2 separate regions of the Homo sapiens genome follow, and region 2 is linked to region 1. Evidence: promoter capture Hi-C in 16 types of primary human blood cells and fetal thymus (Javierre and others, 2016). All regions are on one chromosome and are shown on one strand. Each heading gives the region's core, a stretch centred on a gene start or on the middle of the fragment in contact. The rest is flanking DNA. Distances are from core to core; before and after follow the strand shown. Region 1 holds the start of ZNF394 (zinc finger protein 394). Region 2 holds the start of LOC105375423 (a long non-coding RNA gene).

What was found. Contacts are between HindIII fragments. The CHiCAGO score rates a contact against its expected background, and 5 or more counts as called.
Region 2: a fragment that was not itself captured here is called in contact with the fragment with the promoter of ZNF394 in region 1 in 1 of 17 cell types (erythroblasts); the score reaches 6.9 in erythroblasts.

What each region holds. Positions count from the first base shown.
Region 1 is chr7:99,498,490-99,501,840 of GRCh38, forward strand. ZNF394 (zinc finger protein 394) reads right to left here and starts at 1,792. Exons shown (of 3, transcript NM_032164.4): 1 at 1,149-1,792; 2 at 227-353. The coding sequence starts at 1,604. RefSeq lists enhancers at 232-900, 1,123-1,402. The HindIII fragment of the contact is 23,896 bases long and covers 1-3,351 here.
Region 2 is chr7:99,994,879-99,998,412 of GRCh38, forward strand. It overlaps LOC105375423 (a long non-coding RNA gene), which reads left to right and starts at 2,197. Exons shown (of 3, transcript NR_159960.1): 1 at 2,197-2,232. RefSeq lists enhancers at 2,555-2,644, 2,655-2,774. The HindIII fragment of the contact is 2,314 bases long and covers 1,073-3,386 here.

The sequences.
Region 1 (3,351 bases), core at 542-3,041:
TATCTTTTTTTTATATAGTTTTCTGTATGTATAAAACATTAAAAATGAACCAAAGTAAAAAGCTGAATCTAGCACCTAGCAGTACAGAGGCTCCTGCTTGCGTTACAGAAGGCACCTGAAGGCTCTCAGCCCAAGTCTGGGAATGGCATAGTGGCTCAGGGATGGTAGTGAACCAGCCCTTCACAAACCACACACCGCAATAAACCAGCAGAGCAACAGCACTCACTCGGCGGAACTGTGCTCCCGGAATCCTTCTGCGCACTCTCTCTGCAGAAGTCCCTCCGTGCTGGGTCCAGGCGCTCCCACTCCTCCCAGGTTAGAGACACAGCCGTGTCCTCGAAAGTCACCATCCCCTGGAACAACACAAGAGCCCCATTCAGTACCTGCTGTCCCTGTACAGCACTAACACTCTTCTTGAGTCTTGTACCGACAAGGGAGTTTGGAGAGATCAGAGATAGAGGCTGACATTCTCTTGTAATCCTGAAAAGCCTTTCTGTGGACTATTTACACTAATTTTGGAGGTAGGTAGGAGCAAAATATTTCTTTAACTTATATCACTGTGATGTATGGGAATGGAAATATGATACAGATTAAAAGTAAACAAGGCCGGGCGCGGTGGCTCACGCCTGTAATCCCAGCATTTTGGGAGGCCGAGGCGGGCGGATCACCTGAGGTCAGGAGTTCGAGACCAGCCTGGCCAACACAGTGAAACCCCGTCTCTACTAAAAATACAAAAATTAGCCGGGCGTGGTGGCGGGCGCCTGTAATCCCAGCTACTCGGGAGACTGAGGCAGGAGAATCGCTTGAACCCGGGAGTCAGAGGTTGCAGCGAGCCGAGATCGCGCCATTGCACTCCAGCCTGGGCAACAAGAGTGAAACTCCATCTCAAACAACAGCAAGAACAACAAGAAAAAAAAAAAAAAGAAAAGAAAAAGAAAGAAAACCAGTAATCCGTGTTCGCTTTATGCTGAGGTCTATAACAAGTCATTTCCTGGATGGATCTGTCACTGTGGCCTACAGAAAGGAAGTCCATACACACCCCAATGTTCACACGAAATGTAATAAGGAAGTAAGTTCCGAAACGCAGAGCACCCCTAAACGCCTATTTTCCACACTCCCACCTCCAGAACAGGCCTTTCGCTTCTCACCTGGGATGAGGTTCCATCGAGCGCTCGCTGCAGAGCCCGCACCACGGCCACCGCCTCCTCCCCGCTCTCTGGGCAGTGCTCTCGCACCCAGGCTTGAAGCTCCTCGGGCAGGATGGTGAGGAACTGCTCCAGCACCAGCAGCTCCAGGATCTGCTCCTTGGAGAGCAGCTCGGGTCTCAGCCACCGACGACAGAGTTCTCGGAGCCGGCTCAGCGCCTCTTCCGGTCCAGCCACCTCCTGGTAACGCAGCTGCCTAAAGTGCAGTCGAGAAGTTTCGGGGTCCGGCGAAGCCGCGGGATAGTTGGGCTCCCAACTTCCGGGTGAGTCTTCCTCCACTTTCACGGGCAAAAGTCCGTCGCGTTGGGACGGCGCCGCGTCCTTGGACCTCGCAGCCATCACCCAGGGTCCCAACTCGGCGTCACTGCCGCGCCTCTGGGCGGTCAAGCTGGAATTCATCTTTCTCCGGCATGTGCTGCCCTTCCTGGAGTCTTCTTTTCAGGTGAAGAAAGAGCAAACCCAAGGAACTCATCAGCCGTCAACACCCTCCGGTCCCAAACACCGGGCCCCACCACACCAGGCCCCTCTCCACACTCTCCTTTCCTCAGCTTTGCGCCTACAACTCTCTCGGTCAAACAACCGAAAACATCCCGTGCCGGAAGCGCGTCATCGAGGCCTTGCGGCACCTTTCCCTGCATTTCCGGGGCCTCTCTAGGCGCCTGATGGGGTGAGGTGCATCTCGCTGGTTTATCGTCCTAGCCCCGCCCGACGCAGAGGGTCTTGACGGTTTCCCGCATCCCGAGGAAATACGGGCGTCCGAGCCGGTGGCCGAGCTCCGGCAAGGGCGGGAACCTTCAGGATTAAATAGACAGGGTCTGGCTCTGTCGCCCAGGCTGGACTGCAGTGGCGCGATTTCGGCTCACTGCAACTTCTGTCTCCCGGGTTCAAGCAATTCTCCAGCTTCAGCCTCCCAAGTATCTAGGACTACAGGTGCGCGCGACCACGCCCGGTTTATTAATTTTTCTGTGGGGATGGGGTTTCATTATATTGCCCAGGTTGGACAAAGTTGTTTTTTTTTCTTTTTTCAGGCGGACTCTCGCTCTGTCGCCAGGCTGTCTTAGCCTCCTGAGTAGCTTGGACTACAGGCGCGCGCCACCATGCCCGGCTACTTTCTGTATTTTAGTAGAGATGGGGTTTCACCATGTTGGTCAGGCTGGTCTGGAACTCCTGACCTCGTGATCCGCCTGCCCCGGCCTCCCAAAGTGCTGGATTACAGGCGTGAGCCGCTGCGCCCAGTTGGAAAAAGTTTTGTTTTTTTTTTAAAACTAAGTGCTTCCATGTACATCAGATGTTAACGACTTTGATCCTAACAAACAAACAAAAAAGATGAGGAAATTGAGGCTCAAAGATGTGTCCTGGCCTGGCTCAGTGGCGTATGCCTGTAATCCCAGCATTTTGGGAGGCTGAGGGGGGAAGATCGCTTGAAGCCAAGAATTGGAGACCCCAATGTCTACAAAAAATAAAAAATTAGCTGGGTGTGGTGGTGCACACCTGTAGTCCCAGTGAGAGGTGAAGCTAGTTGGACTTCCTGGGTCCAGTGGGGACTTGGACAACTTTTCTGTCTTACAAGAGGTTTGTAAAAATGCACCAATCAGCGCTCTGTAGCTAGCAAGAGGTTTGTAAAATGCACCAATCAGCGCTCTGTAAAATGGACCAATCAGCAGGATTCTAAAAGCAGCCAATCGCAGGGAGGATGGAAAAAAGGGCGTTCTGATACGACAGAAACGGACATGGGAGGGGACAAATAAGAGACTAAAAGCTCCCACCCCAGTCAGCGGAGGCAACCGGCTGGAGTGCTCTGCCATGCTGTGGAAGGTTTGTTCTTTCGCTCTTCACAATAAATCTTGCTGCTACTCACTCTTTGGGTCCGTGCCATCTTTAAGAGCTGTAACACAGTGAAGGTCGGAGGCTGCATTCTTGAAGTCAGCGAGAGGATGAACCCACTGGAAGGAACCAACTCAGGATACACCACTTACTTGGGAGGCTGAGGTGGGAGGATCCTTTGAGCCCAGGAGGTAAAGACTGCAGTGAGATATGATCGCACCAGTGCACTCCAGCCTGGGTGACAGAGCAAGACTCTGTCTCTAAAACAAAGTGTCTTGGTTGATGTCAAGCTGCTGGTGATTTGCAACTTGCATAAAATGAG
Region 2 (3,534 bases), core at 980-3,479, 500 kb after region 1:
TGAGGCTGTCTCCTTCAAAAGCATCTCAGCTCTGTCTTGGAGCTTTGAGTTGAGAGTTTTTTTTTCAAGCCAGATTTTACGTCGTTCCCAGACACATTCACAAGCCTTGCTGGACCAAAGAAAAAAAACGAGTTAGCCTGGGCACAGCGGCTCACACCTGTAATACCAACACTTTGGGAGGCCAAGATGGGTGGATGGCTTGATGCCAGGAGTTCGAGACCAGCCTGGTCAACATAGCGAGACCCCCCATCTCTAAAAAATAAAATAAAGTACATATACCAGCAATGATGTATAACCGAAAAATAAATAAATAAACAAGTTAATATTGAAATGTCATGTTTGCCCCCAACCCAAATAAGCACTATAACCTCTTGTTATTCACTTCTCATGCAACCAGTCTTCTGTTCTCTGTGAGTCTTTAGGAAATGAGGAGCATGATCTTCTAGCAGTAAAACACCTGTAGAGAATTGCCTTATGTTTTTTGTTTGTTTATTTGTTTGTGTGCTTTGGTTTGGTTTGCTTTTTTTTTTTTTTTTTTTTTTTTTTTGAGATGGAGTCTCGCCCTGTTGCCCAGGCTGGAGTGTAGTGGCGAAATCTCGGCTCACTGCAACCTCCACCTCCCTGGTTCAAGCAATTCCCCTGTCTCAGCCTCCCGAGTAGCTGAGATTACAGGTGCACACCACCACGCCCGGCTAATTTTTTTGTATTTTTAGTAGAGATGGGGTTTCACCATGTTGGCCAGACTGGTCTCGAACTTCTGACCTCAGGCAATCCGCCTGCCTCAGCCTCCCAAAGCGCTGGGATTACAGGCATGAGCCACTGCGCCCCGCCTCCATGTTAATCACTCTTTCTGATTTCAAATAACTCATTATCCCCATGACCTTATGGATTTGTTTTTCCTCTTCATCCACAAAATTCTCCAGAGAAGTCTCCCTTGTTATCTCTTGGCTGTGCTTTCTATCTCACCAGTTATCTTTCTCCAAAGAGCTTCCTCTGCAAAGAAGCTTTGTATATGAAGACCATGTGGGGGCTGAATCAAGACCAAGTTTCACAACCTAAAAGTAGTTCACAAAGCTTCCTTGCCTCTATTCTCTGCAAATCTGTAAACTCTTCAGCTGACCCAATTTCTCTCTTTAGCCTTCAGAGATTATTTTATTTTATTTTATTTCATTTCATTTCATTTCATTTTGACAGAATCTAGCTCTGTCGCCCAGGCTGGAGTGCAGTGGCACCATCTTTGCTCACTGCAACCTCCCCCTCACAGGTTCAAGCAACTGTCCTGCCTCAGCCTCCCGAGTAGCTGGGATTACAGGCGTGAGCCACCACGCCCAGCTGATTTTTTTTTGTATTTTTAGTAGAGACAGGGTTTTGCCATGTTGGTCAGGCTGGTCTGGAACTCCTGATCTCAAATGATCCGCCTGCCTTCACCTCCCAAAGTGCTGGGATTACAGGCGGGAGCCACCACACCAGCCAATTCTATTTTTAATTTTATTGAAGAAGCGCTGTACTATTTCTCACGGGGGCTGCACCATGTTATGTTCCCACCAGCAATGCACAAAGATTCCAATTTGTCCACATCCTCACCAAACACCTGCTATTTTGTTTTGTTTTGTTGGTGGTGGTGGTGGTTTTTTGTGTTTGTTTGTTTGTTTGTTTTTAGTACAGGGAGAGTATCCCTAATCCAAATATCTGAGCTCCAAAAGTTACAAAACCAGAACTTGAGGGCCATCATGGCACTTAGAGAAAATGCTCATTAGAGCATTTCAGACTTAGGATTTTGGGATTAGGGCTGCTCAACCAGTAAAGCAAATATTCCAAAGTCAAAAAAAAATTCTGAAATCTGAAACATTTCCGGTCCCAAGCATTTCAGATAAGGGATATTTAAACTGTAGCCATCCCGACGAGTGTGAGGCGTCTTCTCAAAAGTCTTGCACACTATTTTGTCTGCTTTGATCTGTCATGTGTTTCCTACCACTTTGAAAGCATAACGAATTTTATCCGTATTCATTTATGATGAGAGGCAGTCCAGGCAGTGCAAAGGGCACAAATCGTGGTCCCACAAGTCCTGGCTTCTGACCCGGATCACTGTGAGACCCTGAGCAAGCAAGAACTTGCTCCAGGCCTCAGTTTCCTTGGTCTCTGGGGGAAGCCAGGATGATAATCAGCCATGCTCCAACCCCTCAGCTGAAACTCAGGCCTGGATGCATTGTAAATGGATTTCCTCTTCCACAGGTGAGCCGCTGAATTCGATTCCTTCTTCCTTCCTTCCTTCCTTCTTTCCTTCCTTCCTTTCTTCCTTCCTCTCTTCCTTCCTTCCCTCTCTCCCTCCTCCCTCCCTCTGTCCTTCCTCCCTCTCTCCTTCCCTCTCTTCTTTCCTTTTTTTTCCTTTTTGAGATGGGGTCTCACTGTGTTTCCCAGGCTGGAGTGCAATGGTGCAAGCAAAGCTCACTGCAGCCTCTGACTCCAGGGCTCAAGTGATCCTTCCACTTAAGCCTCCCGAATAGCTGGGGCTACAGGTGTGCCCCACCACACCCGGCTCATTTTATTAATTCTTGGTAGAGACCAGGTCTCTCTCTGTTGCCCAGGCCAGTCTCGAACTCCTGGCCTCAAGCGATCCTCCCACCTCGGCCTCCCAAAGGACTGGGATTACAGGTACGAGTCACTGCGCCCAGGCTTTTCTCCCTTTTGACTCATTTTGAGGCCCCCGTCGTAGGGTACACGCCCTGGGAATCGGGGGTCTTCCAGTATAGGGAACCACCGAGATGCGGGCCCTCCGAAGTCCTAGAGAGGGCGCCTCGGCCGCCGGCACCCGCCACACTTCCGGCCTTTGTGGGCCGCAGCGACGGCGGTCTGCGGCTGTCGGTTCTGTTTGTTGCTGTCACTGCTGTTTGTTCTTGCCAGCGGCTAGGTGTGTAGTTGCTTGGGGCTCCTAGCACGAGGCCTCTGTCCCCAGGCACGCAGCGCCAGTCTCCGGCTGTTGCGCCCTGGGCGCCGCCTCTCTCCGGCCCCCCTTTGTTTCCTGAGCCAGCTGGGAAGACTAAAAGGGTGGGTCCTGGGAGCGGCCCATGGTTCGACCCTTCTTTTCAGGCATCCTTGGAGCATGCAGGCTGCAGATTTCAGGCCGACCCCGCTAGCACCAAAGTCCATGCTGCTGTCCGTGGCAGCTCAGTTTGAAAATGGCCTGGTAGAAAGTCCAGGTTGTTGAACTGGTAAACGCACTCTGCATCCCTTGACTTGAAGTTTTCATTATTCTCTAACGTGCACTTACCCCCAGTAGAGAGCAAATGAAGATTCATACAAGAAATACTGCCTTTCCCAAAATGGGACATTCCAGCAAGGGTGCCGGTACTGACTTGGGTTAGCTTAAGAGAGAGATGCAGTTGAAAAGCTTGTCGGCAGGGATCAGGGAAGACTTCCACTAAGTGGTGTGTATTCAAAGGAGAGGTAGGAATTGGTTAGGTGGACGACATGCTCCACCATCCAAGAAGAACATTCCAGATGGAACTCAGGCAAAAGCACAAAGTTCGAAAAGTC